Linked DNA regions of Homo sapiens: all the other regions are linked to region 3. Evidence: promoter capture Hi-C in 16 types of primary human blood cells and fetal thymus (Javierre and others, 2016). All regions are on one chromosome and are shown on one strand. Each heading gives the region's core, a stretch centred on a gene start or on the middle of the fragment in contact. The rest is flanking DNA. Distances are from core to core; before and after follow the strand shown. Region 1 overlaps IPO5 (importin 5). Region 2 holds the start of BIVM (basic, immunoglobulin-like variable motif containing). Region 3 holds the start of TMTC4 (transmembrane O-mannosyltransferase targeting cadherins 4).

What was found. The method cuts DNA at HindIII sites, captures the fragments that hold promoters and counts their contacts. A CHiCAGO score of 5 or more calls a contact.
Region 1: a contact is called between a fragment that was not itself captured here and the fragment with the promoter of TMTC4 in region 3, in 2 of 17 cell types (monocytes and naive B cells). The highest score is 6.6, in monocytes.
Region 2: a contact is called between the fragment with the promoter of BIVM here and the fragment with the promoter of TMTC4 in region 3, in 1 of 17 cell types (non-activated CD4 T cells). The highest score is 5.6, in non-activated CD4 T cells.

What each region holds. Positions count from the first base shown.
Region 1 is chr13:97,973,906-97,978,748 of GRCh38, reverse strand. IPO5 (importin 5) reads right to left here. Exons shown (of 29, transcript NM_002271.6): 4 at 1,963-2,056. The coding sequence starts at 2,052. Among named protein-coding and RNA genes, the nearest start is that of IPO5, 23 kb to the right of the region's middle. RefSeq lists silencers at 1,552-1,901, 2,082-2,811. The HindIII fragment of the contact is 7,323 bases long and covers 1-4,843 here.
Region 2 is chr13:102,796,634-102,801,492 of GRCh38, reverse strand. It overlaps BIVM (basic, immunoglobulin-like variable motif containing), which reads right to left and starts at 2,374. Exons shown (of 11, transcript NM_017693.4): 1 at 1,972-2,374. It overlaps POGLUT2 (protein O-glucosyltransferase 2), which reads left to right and starts at 2,517. Exons shown (of 10, transcript NM_024089.3): 1 at 2,517-3,004; 2 at 4,484-4,689. The coding sequence starts at 2,823. RefSeq lists silencers at 748-1,177, 1,208-1,257, 1,818-2,087 and an enhancer at 2,148-2,367. The HindIII fragment of the contact is 9,485 bases long and covers 1-4,859 here.
Region 3 is chr13:100,672,632-100,676,869 of GRCh38, reverse strand. It overlaps TMTC4 (transmembrane O-mannosyltransferase targeting cadherins 4), which reads left to right and starts at 2,075. Exons shown (of 19, transcript NM_032813.5): 1 at 2,075-2,126. RefSeq lists enhancers at 1,405-1,484, 2,810-3,699 and silencers at 1,675-2,174, 2,205-2,564, 2,615-2,694. The HindIII fragment of the contact is 7,703 bases long and covers 43-4,238 here.

The DNA of each region.
Region 1 (4,843 bases), core at 1,559-4,058, 2.7 Mb after region 3:
ACAATAGAGACTTAAGCAACTGGAGGGAACAGAGAGAATTAAACTAGCTTACTAATTACAATGCTGTTCTGCTTTGTAACACATGAAAATTTCTATTATTTTCATGCTGGGATTAAAAAGTTATTTTGGCGAAAAATTATCTCAAGAGTTACCAGAAAGCATTAATTTTTTTTTTTAAAGCATCATCATATCCCCAAGGCAAACTGGTGCAATACATGCATATCACTTCTAGGAACAAATGCTACTTTTCAGTATTCTACAAGCAAACCTGGCAAAGTATGCAAAGATAGGTATACATGTACTCCTGCGCATAGTACTATTTTTAAAAGAGCAGGTCACTGGAAACCGCAATATCCATTTCATAGAGGGTTGCTTATATAAATATCTATCCATATGATGTATAATCTATAGCTGACCAAAACCTCACTTATGAGGCAATGTGAAATATAGAGTGAAAAATTCAAGTTGCAAAATAGTGTAAATAGTATTATAAGCCCATTAAGTAAAAAATGAATGTGTATGTTAAATTTTCAGCGAAGATTCACGACACAAGCGGTCACCTTTGGGAAACGGGATAAGAAACGATTCACTGTTTGAATTTTTACCCTGAACATGTATTACATGTATAATAAATAAAAACTTAATGAAGTGAATAGTAGAAAATGCTTTTTCACATAGAACCGAATTTTGGGTGTGTTTACTTCACTTAATATAAAACCCCTAAGTGTAACCAGCATATCCACCATCTATTCAAAACAACGATTACCACCGTCGTTTCAAAGACACCTGGAAAAGTCTTCAGGCCTGAGTTCAGAAGAGGACTTGCAGTCAATTTCATTGGCTATATGTAAAATTAATTTTTGTTATTTAAAAATATCTGGCTGAACATCCTTCACTTAATCTTATGAAACTCTACAATCGCATGGTTGCAAAAACCCCATATATAACCAAGTTTGGCGGTCAGCTAAGAAACTGGAAAGTTTCTCCCTCCCCTGGAAGTATCCCACAAGAATCGTGGTCTCAACGCTGAAAATGTAACATCAGTCTTCTAGTGAACTTGGTAAATGAGCTTACAGATATATTTAAAATACTGTCACTTGAAAGTCTCTCCACATTTTGGAGGCCAGGAACAAGAGGTGGTTTGAAAAAAAGAGATTACGGTTAGATTTAATGAAGTTGAAGACTTAAACATATGGTACTGGCCCAGTTAAACAACGGAAGTCCCACTACATCCCATTTATCCCACGATTCTCTAGAGAGCAAAGAAAATTTGTCTGAAGAGCAGAGTAAGTGTATTATAAGCCCAGAGTAAGGTGGAAACTGCATAGAAAGAAACCCTAAAGGCAACTTCACAAAACTGGAGGTGGGAGGGGGTAGGGAAATCTGGCTTCTGATGTTAGGAACTAGAATGAGAAAGAACTAAATGGAAAAAGGCAGTAGGGACAAGGCAGGGCACATATTTAAAAAGAGAGGGACAGACGGTGTGGGAGATGAGCAGGGGTAGAAGCAGGCGTGACGGGTCAGGTAGCAGCCAGGGTTTGGGAGACCCACAGCGCTAGGCTGGGTGGAGACAGCGGCTGGAAGGGCAGTGGGGGCTCCCACTGGGAGAAAGCGGGAAAGGGGCAAGCGGGGAGCTGGGAAGCGGGGTGGCCAGCGAAGTTGGGGCCCCGGGCCCGCCCGGCACCCCACACCTGGACGGGGGCGCGTCGGGAGCGGCCGCACGTGGGTGCGAGCGGCGGCGGGGAGGTAACTGGTGCCAGGCGCCGCGGCAGCAATGGCCGGAAAAGCCCGGGGGCACGACCGGGAGCCGCGGGCCGCCTCACACGTGGGCTGCGCGGCCGCCGCCCGCCGGGCCCAGCCTGCGCGGCCGCCGCGGACCGGCCGAGGCCCGGTGCGGCTGGCGTCGGTAAAGGGTCGGCGCGCCGGCCAGGGCGCGAAGACTGGGGCGGCGAACTCGGTTACCTCTGCCTGTTTCCGGACCACATTGTCGGGGCTGAGCAGGTTTCCCAGGAGCAGGTAGAACTGTTGCTGCTCCGCCGCGGCCGCCGCCATTGCGCTAGGCGTGAGAGAGAAGGAGGGAGGGGAGACAGGAGCCGTGAGGCGCGCTCGCGGGCCGCGGGAGGGGCGGGGGCGGGCCCAGCGCGGGGACCGGCACCAGCGGCGGCGCGGGGCTTGCGGGGGGCCGCGCGGGAAGGGCGGGGCAAAGGGGAAAGGGGAGGACGGGGCGGGGCCTCGCGGCCTCTCACCCCGCCGCGGCCGCCGGCGCCGGCGCCTCACTGGCCTTGGGCGCAGGGGGGCGGGGCCGAGGACGCCTCCTCGGGGGCCGCGCTGATTGGCCACGCACCCTGCGGTGCCGTCAGTGGCCGCGCATCGGGGGCCGCCGGCTGTACGCCGGTTGGGTAGGCTGGCGGCTTCGCAGCCGGGCCAGGGCTGGGATCGGGGTCGGGGTCGGGGTTGAGGTCGAGGTCGAGGCCTGGGCTGGGGCCAGGGCTGCGTCGCGGGGACAGCGGGAGGAGCCGGCCGGCGGGCCCGGCCGCGGCAAGGGGCCTGAGGCCTGGCCGGGGAGGAGGGGCCAGCTGCTGAGCGCGGGAGATTTCGGCGCCGCGGGCTGGTCGGCCTCCTTCTAGCGACCCCCGGCCCCTCCCCGTGGCCGCTGGAGCAGGCCCCACCCCTTTGGTCCCTCGCTCCCTGGGATCCAGCCCTTCACCCACCCCCAGGAAGGCAGTCCCTTTAGACCCACTTCCTACGTACCTTCTACTCACGGACTTCTCGCTTTCAGACCCTCCGACCTCCCCCAGGGCTGTGGACTCAGGGCGCCCCTTCCTCCCGTCGCGCTCTCCAGTGACTCACGCCTGGGGCTTGCCCGGAAGAGGGGTTACTCAGCCCGGGGCTGTCCCGCCAGGCCGCCCGTCCCCAGCCCGCGGTCGTCTTCGGATGTACACGTAGCAAACATGCCCCCACCCCAGGATCTGTGACTGTTCCCTTGAATCCCTTGTTTAGGGATTCTGTTCTCGCAATGATTGGGGAACGTCAAGAGAGACACCTTTCTTCCTAAAGGAGCCCTGGTTTACAGGGCTGATTATCTCAATCTCAGTCTAGGAACCTAGAGGCGTAATTTCAATTTCAGCATTCTAATGCGCAGATAATACACGCGATGTTCTTTAACTCCTGGGGCTGCCAAAGGCAGAGAGCAGTGTACAAATCAGAGGGTACTTTTGTTGAGACCCTGTTGTATCCAATACATTGGGCTAAGGGTGTCAGTGGAAGCCTTGCTCTGTCGCCTAGGCTGGAGTGCAGTGGCGCGATCTCGGTTTAGTGCAACCTCTGCCTCCCGGGTTCAAACAATTCTCATGCCTCAGCCTCCCAAATACCTGGGATTACAGGCATGTTCCACCATGCCCAGCTAACTTTTTTGTATTTTTAGTAGAAACGGGGTTTCACCAAGTTGGCCCAGTTGGTCTCGAACTCCTGACCTCAGGCGATACCAGCCCCCCCCGCCCTCCCCCCGCCTCGGCCTCCCAAAGTGCTAGGATTACAGGCATGAGCCACTGCGCCCAGCTACAAAAACAATTCATTTCTGCCCCAAAGGGACACTACATCTCTAGTGAGGAGGTTTCATACTGGGTGAGATGGAAGAGTAGTTCTACACCGCTGGCAGTACATAGTATTTAACTTAGGGAATTTAATTTCCTGTTGGCTATTCTGCTGCAGTTCTGCTCTTTGAAAGTCAAAACATTTGCTCTTTGGTGAATGATTTTAAATCTTGGCCACTGTGTTTAGAATCTGGGCTGAGCCCTGGGATCCACGTGCAATTGGGATGGCCAGCCAAGATTTTTTTCTAAAGGATTCTAATTGGTTCCTAGAGAAAATTCTCTTAGAAAGTTTTGGGCCATGACAATGATGGGTTCTCTACAGGAGGTCTGCAGACCTATCTTTGTTGAATTTATATTTCTTAGATGTGACAAGTTTTCATTCTTATGCCACGTTATTTCTTCTAGACAAACCACTATGCACATTACTTTGGGGCAGCTTTTTTTTGTTTGATTTTGATTTTTTTTTTTTTTTGTGGGTCGTTGGGGTATCTGGATTCTGAGGAGGTTTCATCATCAGCCAAGGTTATTAAGGTTTTAAGAATTACAGGCCGGGCAAGGTGGCTCACGCCTGTAATCCCAGCACTTTGGGGGGCCGAGGTGGGCGGATCACCTGAGGTCAGGAGTTCGAGACGAGCCTGGCCAACATGGTGAAAGCCCGTCTTTACTAAAAATACAAAAATTAGCCAGGTGTGGTGGTGGTGGGCGCCTGTAATCCCAGCTACTCGGGAGGCTGAGGCAGGAGAATCACTTGAACCTGGGAGGTGGAGGTTACAGTGAGCCGAGATCGTGCCATTGCACTCCAGCCTGGGTGATAGAGCAAGACTCCGTCTCAAAAAAAAAAAAAAAGAATTTCAGACAAAAACAACTCATTCAAATGACTAGGTTAACAGTGAAATATGATAAATTGCTTAGAGGCTGCTTAGGGCATGGCCCGATCTCCAGTTACTTTTTAACACCTGTTGCGATATGTGTTTCTATTGGCAATGAGTCTGTAGGTTACATATATTTGCTTAATAGTTACTAAATAATAGAAATTCCAATCAAGTTTGCAGATATTTGTTACTATTATTATTATTGTTATTATTATTATTTTGAGACAGAGTCTCACTCTGTTGCCCAGGGTGGAGAGCAGTGGTGTGATCTCACTGCAGCCGCCACTTCTTGGGCTCCAGCGATCCTCCCACCTCAGCCCTTCCAACTAGCTGGTCTGCAGGCACAAGCCACCACACCTGGCTAATGTTTCCAGTTTT
Region 2 (4,859 bases), core at 1,125-3,624, 2.1 Mb before region 3:
TCATCTGAGGTCAGGAGTTTGAGGCCAGCCTGGCCAACATGGTGAGACCCGTTTCTACTAAAAAAAAATAAAAAATAAAAAAATACAAAATTAGCCGTGCATGGTGGCGCATGCGTGTAGGCCCAGCTACTCAGGAGGCAAGGCTGGAGAATCGCTGAACACCAGAGGTGGAGGTTACAGTTGCACCATTGCACTCCAGCCTGGGCGATCAGAGCAAAACTCCGTCTCAAAAAAAAAAAAAAAAAAATTTACTACTAAGAATGACTGCAGGACCTCAGGCTCAACTAATAGCTTACTCATAAAATCATGTCATAAGCAATAGAAATATGGTTTGCTCGTATGCAAAGCAAAAATTTATAAAATGGCAAGTTTAAAAAGCACCGCCAGAGTCATGATTGTTCAAAGTCACTGAACGAAGTGTTCTGTAAAATAAACGTCCATTTGTAAAGCCAATCTTCATCGCCTAGGTTGTAGTCTTTTCAGGTTATATTTTGTCTGTATTCTCAAGTATCAAGTTTATGAGAGAACCAAACATCTCTAAAAACCTCTTCAGTAAAGCCTTTTCGTATAACAAAATACCCTGATCGATATCCTGTATAGAAGGCAACTGAGGAGCAGGGGCATTCCGGTGACCTCGTAAGGGTCGAATATGCGCGGGAGGGCGAAACCAGAGGCGCATAGCCCCCGGCCGAGCTAATGCCACCCTTCCCACCCGGTGTCCTCCCGCGCCCTCCAGGCCCCTTCCTCCCCTTCAGACCTGCGGGTCCCCAGAGCCGAGGCGCCAGCCTGTCAAAAGATACCGGGAGTCCTCCGCGCCTGGCGCCAGCCTCCAGCCCGCGCCCCTGGGGAGGCCGGGAGCGTTTCCACCACCGTCCTCTGACAAGCTCGCCGCTCGGCCGGGCTCCGAGGCCGCCGGGACGGAGTAGACAGTCGCGCAGGCCAAGCCCCGCCGCGCAGAACCAGTGCGCGCGGAGGCGACGCGGGCAGAGAGGAAGGAGCGCGGCTGCGCTCCCTGCCCGTGGCCAACCCAGCCCGCGCCTCCGCGCGTGTCGCGGGCACCCCGAGTCCCCAGCCCGCAGAGCCCAAGGGCCGCCGAGGCCTCCTCGCCCCTACTCCCTCCTCTACCTTCCCTCACCGGCCGGAAGACGAGGCTCTCCGCCAGGGGGAGCGCGCCGAGGCCCGGGGGTGACCGCCTCGAACATGCTTGCCCCGGGCCCCGGGGACGCTGTTGGTGTTAAAGGGGGCCCACGGGCAATTGCTGCATCCGGGCTAAGAGCTGGGGCTCCGATTCGACTGTTTGAGTAAACGAGTCGGTATCATTAATAATGACAATTGCACAAAAGAAAATAGGAAAGAAACCCCCTTTCCTGGCGCCGAACCAGGCCCGCCTTGGCTCGGAGCCACCGGCTCTTCTGGGTTTTCGGGGCAGCTGGCAAGAGGGAGGCAGGCAGAGGAGGCGGCTCCGGGTCCGACTGCCAAGCTGACCAGGGCGGTGAGCCCGTGACTCCTGGCGGCGGCCCAGACCCGGGTGCTGGCGTGCAGGGGAAGGCGACGGCCGCTGCGCGCTGGTTCCCGGACCCTGCCCAGCGTGGCGTGGAGACCGACGGCCGCACAGGGGTCACCGGTATCCACATGGACACCTCCTAATCGAGCTTTGTTCACCAGAGGGCTAGGCCCTTCTTTCCCTGGCGCTTCTCTTCCCCCCGCGACACAGCTCTTCCCCCTACTCCTTCCCGGGAGAGCGCGCACCCATGCAGTGGCCTCCATCTGGACGCCACGGGGCTCGGAGAGGCGATGACCCCTGGCAGCCCAGGCCGGTATCGAATTAAGTAAAAATTTTGAATGCCCAGGTGGCTGCGCGTAGAGCGGCAGCAGGCCGGGCTGGCGGCGCCCAGGTGCCCAGCGGAGGGCCAGGCGCTCAGAGCGCACAGCCGGCCGCCACCTCGGCCCCTGCCCCCCGCCCCGGGGTACCTCTGGCCTGTCGGGTGGGGTCGGGTCGCTGCGGCCGCGGCGGAACCCGGCTCCGGACCTGGATCACAGCATCCAGCGCGCGGCCGGCGAGGCGCCTCCTGTTACCCTGGGGCCGGCGTCCCTCGTCCCATCGGAGCGAGCGAGGATGCTGCGGTGCCCGGCGACAGGTCGTCGGATAGCATTGACAGCACCTTCCTTTCAAGGTGCTTTATGCCTGCCCTCTCCACGTGCGGAGGGCAGGGTGACCAACGCAAAAACCTGAGCTGCGCCTCCAGACCCGTGCGCCCCTTTGATGGGCATCTGTGGTGTTTATCTGTCCCCCGAAAGCGGTGACCGAGAAGTAAATAAATGGGCGAGAGGTGGTAAAATCCTGGCAGTATTTCCGCTCGTCCTGTCGCGAACTACATATCCCAGGGAGCCCGGGGCGCCGGGACGCGTGTCCACCCCGCCATCCACTTGGAGAAGGCGTTACTGAGCCTGGCCCGACGCACGGGCCAATCCCCTCGCCCTACACCTTGGCTGGAACCTGAGACGGATTCGCTCCCAAATGATGCTCCAGTGGCAGGAGCAACTCAAGTTCATCATTGTCCTGAGAGAGAGGAGCAGCGCGGTTCTCGGCCGGGACAGCAGAACGCCAGGGGACCCTCACCTGGGCGCGCCGGGGCACGGGCTTTGATTGTCCTGGGGTCGCGGAGACCCGCGCGCCTGCCCTGCACGCCGGGCGGCAACCTTTGCAGTCGCGTTGGCTGCTGCGATCGGCCGGCGGGTCCCTGCCGAAGGCTCGGCTGCTTCTGTCCACCTCTTACACTTCTTCATTTATCGGTGGATCATTTCGAGAGTCCGTCTTGTAAATGTTTGGCACTTTGCTACTTTATTGCTTCTTTCTGGCGACAGTTCCAGCACTCGCCGAGACCGGCGGAGAAAGGCAGCTGAGCCCGGAGAAGAGCGAAATATGGGGACCCGGGCTAAAAGCAGACGTCGTCCTTCCCGCCCGCTATTTCTATATTCAGGCAGTGGATACATCAGGGAATAAGTAAGTCGAGAAACGGCTCCTTACCTATTTTGGATGGCGGTTAAATCTGTTTCTCCCTTTAAGATTTTTCTTTCCAAGAACTCGTTTCTCCACAGCAGTTTATATTCCAGGATATTTGGTTACCCATTTTTCTCTGTAGCTGTAGAAATTGTTCCGAATTATAATATATGCAATATAATGTATTGTATATAACATATAAAATAATCTCCTAGCAATTTTGATTCAGATTCCCACATTATCAGGGCAAGACAAAGTCCCTCCACTTTGCTGGAAATACTGTTTCTAACTACTTTTCGCATAAGCTATTATAAGGGATTTAAACCTAGTTGTTAGAGACTTGATGGGCTTCATCTTTCTCTGGTGCGGCCCTCAATTTTCAAGGAGACATCTGCAGGTAAGCATGTTTTGAAACTGAAAAAGAAAAATGAAGTACTATTTGAAACTTCAGAGTTCGGAAGGAAAGTATCGAAGTATTAATCTCCTATATGATTGTAACAAATATTTTGTTCCAATGAATTTAATACTTTAACATCATACTTAAAACTTATTTTTATAATTCCTATACTTCTGAAATGATTGTCTCTATTATTGGTGGATGCTGACTGTGTGTATTTCATACAGAAAAAAATACTGGAATAAAAGGTTGTCAAGTAAAAGGCAGGTTGTAAATTTTGTTATTTGGCAAAAGATGATACACTACCTACTACTTTGCTTTTGCCCATGGCTGAGCGTGAGTTTTTTTTTTTTAAGACAGGGTTTCACTTCCTAGCCTAGTCTGGAGTGCAGTGGTGCAATCACAGCTCACTGTACCCTCAACCTCCCAGGCTGAAGCTATCCTCCCACCTCAGCCTCCCTAGTAGTTGGGACTACAGGCGTGTGCCACCTCGCCTGGCTATTTGTTTTTTATTATTATTATTATTATTTGTAGAGACAGGATCTCACCTTGTTGCCCAGGCTGATCTCGAACTCCTGGCCTCAAGCAGTCTTCCCTCCTTGGCCTCCCAAGATGTTGAGATAGTAGGCATGGGCCACAGTGCCAGGCCTGAGCGTGATTTATAATACTGATATTGTAAAGATTCATTGGCAGAGATTTTTCAAAATAAGATCATTATCTTTGGGAGCATCATTTGATCACAAATATCCAGATGTGATAGCATGAAATAAGTTAGTAAGAATATTTTTCCATATGGAATGCATGAGTATGTTCTGTGCTTATATAGATTAATAGTCTTAACATACTCCATTGTGACTGTTTAATGAAACTGTTTCATGTTATCTTGGCCATTGTCATCCTCATTTTTTTAAATCTCTGATCCATCATATTCATTCTGGTACTAAAAGCATAAGAGAAGAAGAAGCAATCATATGTTAGAGGAAGAATGTGGAGGAGAATAATCAAGTTTCCAGACTGAAGAGCATAACCTTTGTGTGTTTGTTCGTTAAAATCTGTTTATCTCCCCCATTGCCTTTTCATCACAGATTCACATCTTCTCCAGGCGAAAAGGTCTTCCAGGTGAAAGTCTCAGCACCAGAGGAGCAATTCACTAGAGTTGGAGTCCAGGTTTTAGACCGAAAAGATGGGTCCTTCATAGTAAGATACAGAATGTATGCAAGCTACAAAAATCTGAAGGTGGAAATTAAATTCCAAGGGCAACATGTGGCCAAATCCCCATATATTTTAAAAGGTAATTTGGAATATAATTTTATAACAGCAGTATTTGAATAAAATAATATATGTTATTCCATCAACAAAAACAACTTGGCATGATATATATATATATATATATATTTTTTTTTTTTTTTTTACTGAAAGAAGAAAAATAAAGGCTTTCTACTTGAAAGCTAAGTTATGAGT
Region 3 (4,238 bases), core at 826-3,325:
TATTGTCAGTTCTATCTACTTGACTGATTCTCACAGAAAGCTTTGCTTCTTTTTTGCCAAAGGCTTGTATCTGAATCCATCCAATGCTTGTAACTCAACCATGATGTGACTAGTGAAATTACATACCGATCCACTTTTTGCCAACAAATTTATTGTCCTTAAATCTGATATGTGATCTGTTAAACTACTTCTTACCCTTGTATAAACTCATTAAACTGCAATCTTGTTTCAGCACTAAACACATTTTTAAGTTTAATCTACATTATTAACATCTTCCCCATCACTTTCTGAAGTCTAGAGACAATCAGCAAAACAAATCGATCCCTGATTCATGATTCATAATGTTGGCTAATTTCCATGGTGTAAATACTTCGACCATGGCCCATTACAGTCTACCAACGAGACATCACTGAGTGTGGGCCGGGAAAACGCACGTGCAGTAAGCACATTATGATACGTAATACTGGAAATGGTAGGAAGTGGACAGACTTCAGAGTTATTTAGGAAGTAGAATCTTGGCGATTTGTTAGATGCCGAGGTGAAGGCAGAGTTTGGGAAACACTGGATAGTGGTGTCTTCACTATCACAGGGAGACAGGGAGTTGAAAGCAAGCAGGGAAAGGACGCATTCAGTTTTGGATGGGTTCCATTTGAGGTGCTTGTTACCAGGAGTAGCTGAATAGGAAGCTAGATAAACGGATTTGGAGCTCAGAGGAGCAAAGATTAGAGTTGCAAATTTGGGATATATTGATTTAAATGTTGACAGCAGGTTAAATCATTCAGGGAAAAATTGTGGAGTAAGAGGAAAGGTCTGAGACCTTGAAAACTCTGTTATTTGGTGGTCACCCAGAGTAGACAAGCACGCCAAGACTGGGGACAGACAGGAAAGTGGAGCACCCCCGCCACAGGAAGACGTGTTTTAAGGAGAAAGAAGGAATTTTGCTCAGATCAGTTAACACGAGAAAGGAGAGTGTCCTTTGACTTTAGTGATGTGGATGCTACTTGCGACAATTAAAAAGGCAATTTCACCGAGTGTGAAAACGAACACGTGGAGTTGAGAGACCACAAAACTGGGGGCAGGCGCCTCTTTCACCAACTTCAGCGATGGAAAGTAGAAGAGGGTGGCAGCAAGGGTACGTGGAGTAGAGAATCTTGGAATGATGAAATGCCGAGGATACGGATTCCAGTCCAGAGGGAGCAACGGATCGGATTCTGCGATACTGGAAAAACAGAAGGTGGGGGGGGGGGCTCGGTGATGGAGGGAGCAGGTGTGCAGTTTTGCCGGTGGAAAGTGGAAGTTTCTCTTTTCTCCTGAAGCAGGCGGCAAAGACCTCTGAGAGTGGGAGTGTGGTGGGTGTGCCGGGCCCCTGGATGGGAGTGGAGGTTTGGAACCAAGTGGCCCGAGCCTGCGGTGAGTGGGCCCGCCCTGGGTGGCTCTGGCCGCAGCAGGGTCGATGGGGCGGCATGGTCTCGGCGGGAAGAACACGGCTTCAGTCAGTTCTGTTCTAAGAAGCAGAAGGTGGAGATACGCATGTTTTAAACAACTCCTCCCGGACAGGAAGAAGTGGAGTTCTGGCTGTTCTGCGAGGACGCCGCAGTCCCAGCGTGGAGACCACCGCGCAGGCGAAGCGCGAGACAGGCCAGAAATAGGGTCCCGCGCGCGGACCCCGGAGGAAAAGCGAGGGCTCACTCGGTTTCCCGCAGCCAGCCTCGCCCGACCCAGCTGGGGCCGCCCCTTCCCGCCCCGGCCCCGCCTCCGCCTCAGCTCCGCGCCCACAACCCGGCTTCCTCCTCTCCCGCCGGGTCCGTCTGTCCCTGCGCCTCCTTCGCCGCCGACTAGCGCCCCCTGGCCTGACGTCACCGGCGCGTCCGCCAATGAGCTGAGGAGGGACTTGGCTGTGGCCTGAAAGTGACGGGAGCAGCAGCCAATGGTCGGGCGGAGGGGGCGGGCCGAGACTGGTGCTGGGGGGCGCCCGCGCGCGTGGGGAGCTGCGGGAGGCGCGGCGCGGGGGGGGTCGGGTGCGCGGCGGGCGGCCCCTCCCCCTGCCAGGTCCGGGCGGGTGCCTGGAGCCGCCAGAGTTTCCGCACCCGGGAGGGAGATGCGGCCGGGGCTCAGGCTCCTTGCAGGTAACGCGCGGGGCGGCCCCTGCAGGGCCGAGCGCGCCGCGGGGCGAGCGGAGTTGGACGCGGAGCGGGCGCGGGTTCCCCGCTGCCGCCGTGTCCCGAGCCCCGCACGGCGGCCCGGGCCAGAGCGGCGCTGCTGGAGGAGTTGGTTCCGGGACCTGAGCTGCGGCCCGGGCCGGGGTCACGGGGGACGCGGGCCCCTGTGTGAGCCGCACATGGGACAAAGGGCGCGGCGTGGAGGCTGCGCGCCCCGCCCGCCGCGCTCGGGCCCCTGAGCTTCTCCGCCCGGGCAGAGGTCGCCGCCCCCAGCCCCTGCCTGCACAGCCGCGCCGGCGCTCCCTCGGCCCGGGCGCACCCGGCGCCTGCGGCGCGTCCCCGGAGCGGCCATCTGGCCGCGGGGCCCCGCGCCTGGCCGCCAGCTGGCCGCGGCGCAGGCGATGGCTGGACACAGCCGGGCCGCTTGGCCGCCTGCCCTGGGTTCCGCGGCGGCTCCCCCGCCGCGCCGCGAGCGCCTGCTACTCCACGCTCGGCTGCGGAGCGGAGCGGCGCGAGCGCGGGGCCACCGGCCCGGGCGCCCGGGGCCACCGAGCCGCCGCTTCCCGGCGTGGGCTCGGAGTTTGGGGAAGCCGAGCAGGTGGCGCAGCCACTGCCCACCTCCTGCGAACTCTGCGGGGCTTCTGGTCTTGTTGATGTTGTGGCTATGGGCTGCGTGTGTGTTTTTCTTTTTTTTAAACCACACACAAAAGAAGGGAGGAGTTAGAGGAACGATCTAGCCACTATGAGTCATCCCACACTTCGCTCTTTCCCCGGGAGAGCAAATAAATGCATGGGGAGAATGTCTTGAGAAACAGTTATAGTAGGGACTGACTAGGTCCCCTCCCTGTCCCTTTTCTCTGCAGTCCTGTCTGCGCCGGGCGCGCCCCAGATGGAGTGGGGTAAAATCACGGCCAGTGCACCTAGATAGGGGAAATGGCTACAAGCTAGCAAACTGGAAACTTTCTGGGACAGTGGAACTGTGAATATCAAACCACACACATTCTTGCTATAGGCAGCCATGGCCCTCGTGCGCTACTGAATTATAAAATGGGAAGGCCGTCACAGCAGGACGATACCTTAGCCTTCAGTAGCATGTATTCAGCACTGCACGGAGGAGGGCGGTGGTGGTGGCTCGCGCCCCTGCCTTGAGGGGCCCAGGGTCTGATCAGTCAGGAAACTGCCAGGCCCAGGGATGCAGGGTCACAAACGATTGTGTTCTCTAATCTGATTCCCAGAGGCGCTGTCACCTCTCAGCGTGCATAGGATGGCTGGCTATGTGATTGAATGTTACAGATGAGGTAGAAAGGCTGGGCAGAGGTCAGCAGGCCCCTGGATGCATGGAGGGGAATATTCTTCTGTAGGTGGCTGCTGCTAATTTTTCCAAGGGGAAACATTTAGGTTTGGTCTCGCCATTCTGTTTACCGCAGTCCAGGCTGCCGTGTCAGCTGTCATTGGGCCCTCATGGTTCACAGCTGGATGACATTTGTTTTTCTGGGGTCCCTGTGTGGGGTCTTTTTGGCCTTCTCACTGATGATTAATTTGTTTTAACCTCCTGAAAACAGAGGCTCGATATGAGAAGTTTGAGAAATTGTAGGATAAAGGGACGTCTGCTTTGTTCCAGATTCAGCCCCTGTTGAGGGGCCAGTTGATTCTGTCGCAGGAGTCAGGTAGCGAGCAGAACACTGACTTCATTCCTCCTGGGTTGTGCCCTCTGCTTGGCCTGTAGCAGAGGCCACAGTGGGTCTCTCTTTTTGTTGCTTCATAAGGTGAACTAACGATCCAGCTATGGCAGAGGAGCCAGGGAGCCCAGGCAGGACATCATGTGGAGAAGAGGGACCAGAAAGTTCAACCTAGGGCCCATCTGGAAGAAAACAGAGCATCCTTTCCTATTTCATGTCCTGACTGTAAAAAATGGTGGAGGCCGGGCACGGTGGTTCACACCTGTAATCCCCATGCTTTGGAAGGCTGAGGCAGGAGGATCGCTTGAAGCCAGGAGTTTGATTCCAGCCTGGGCAACATAGTGAGACCCTGTCTCTACAAAAAAATATTTAAAATAGCCAGGCATGGTGGCATATGCCT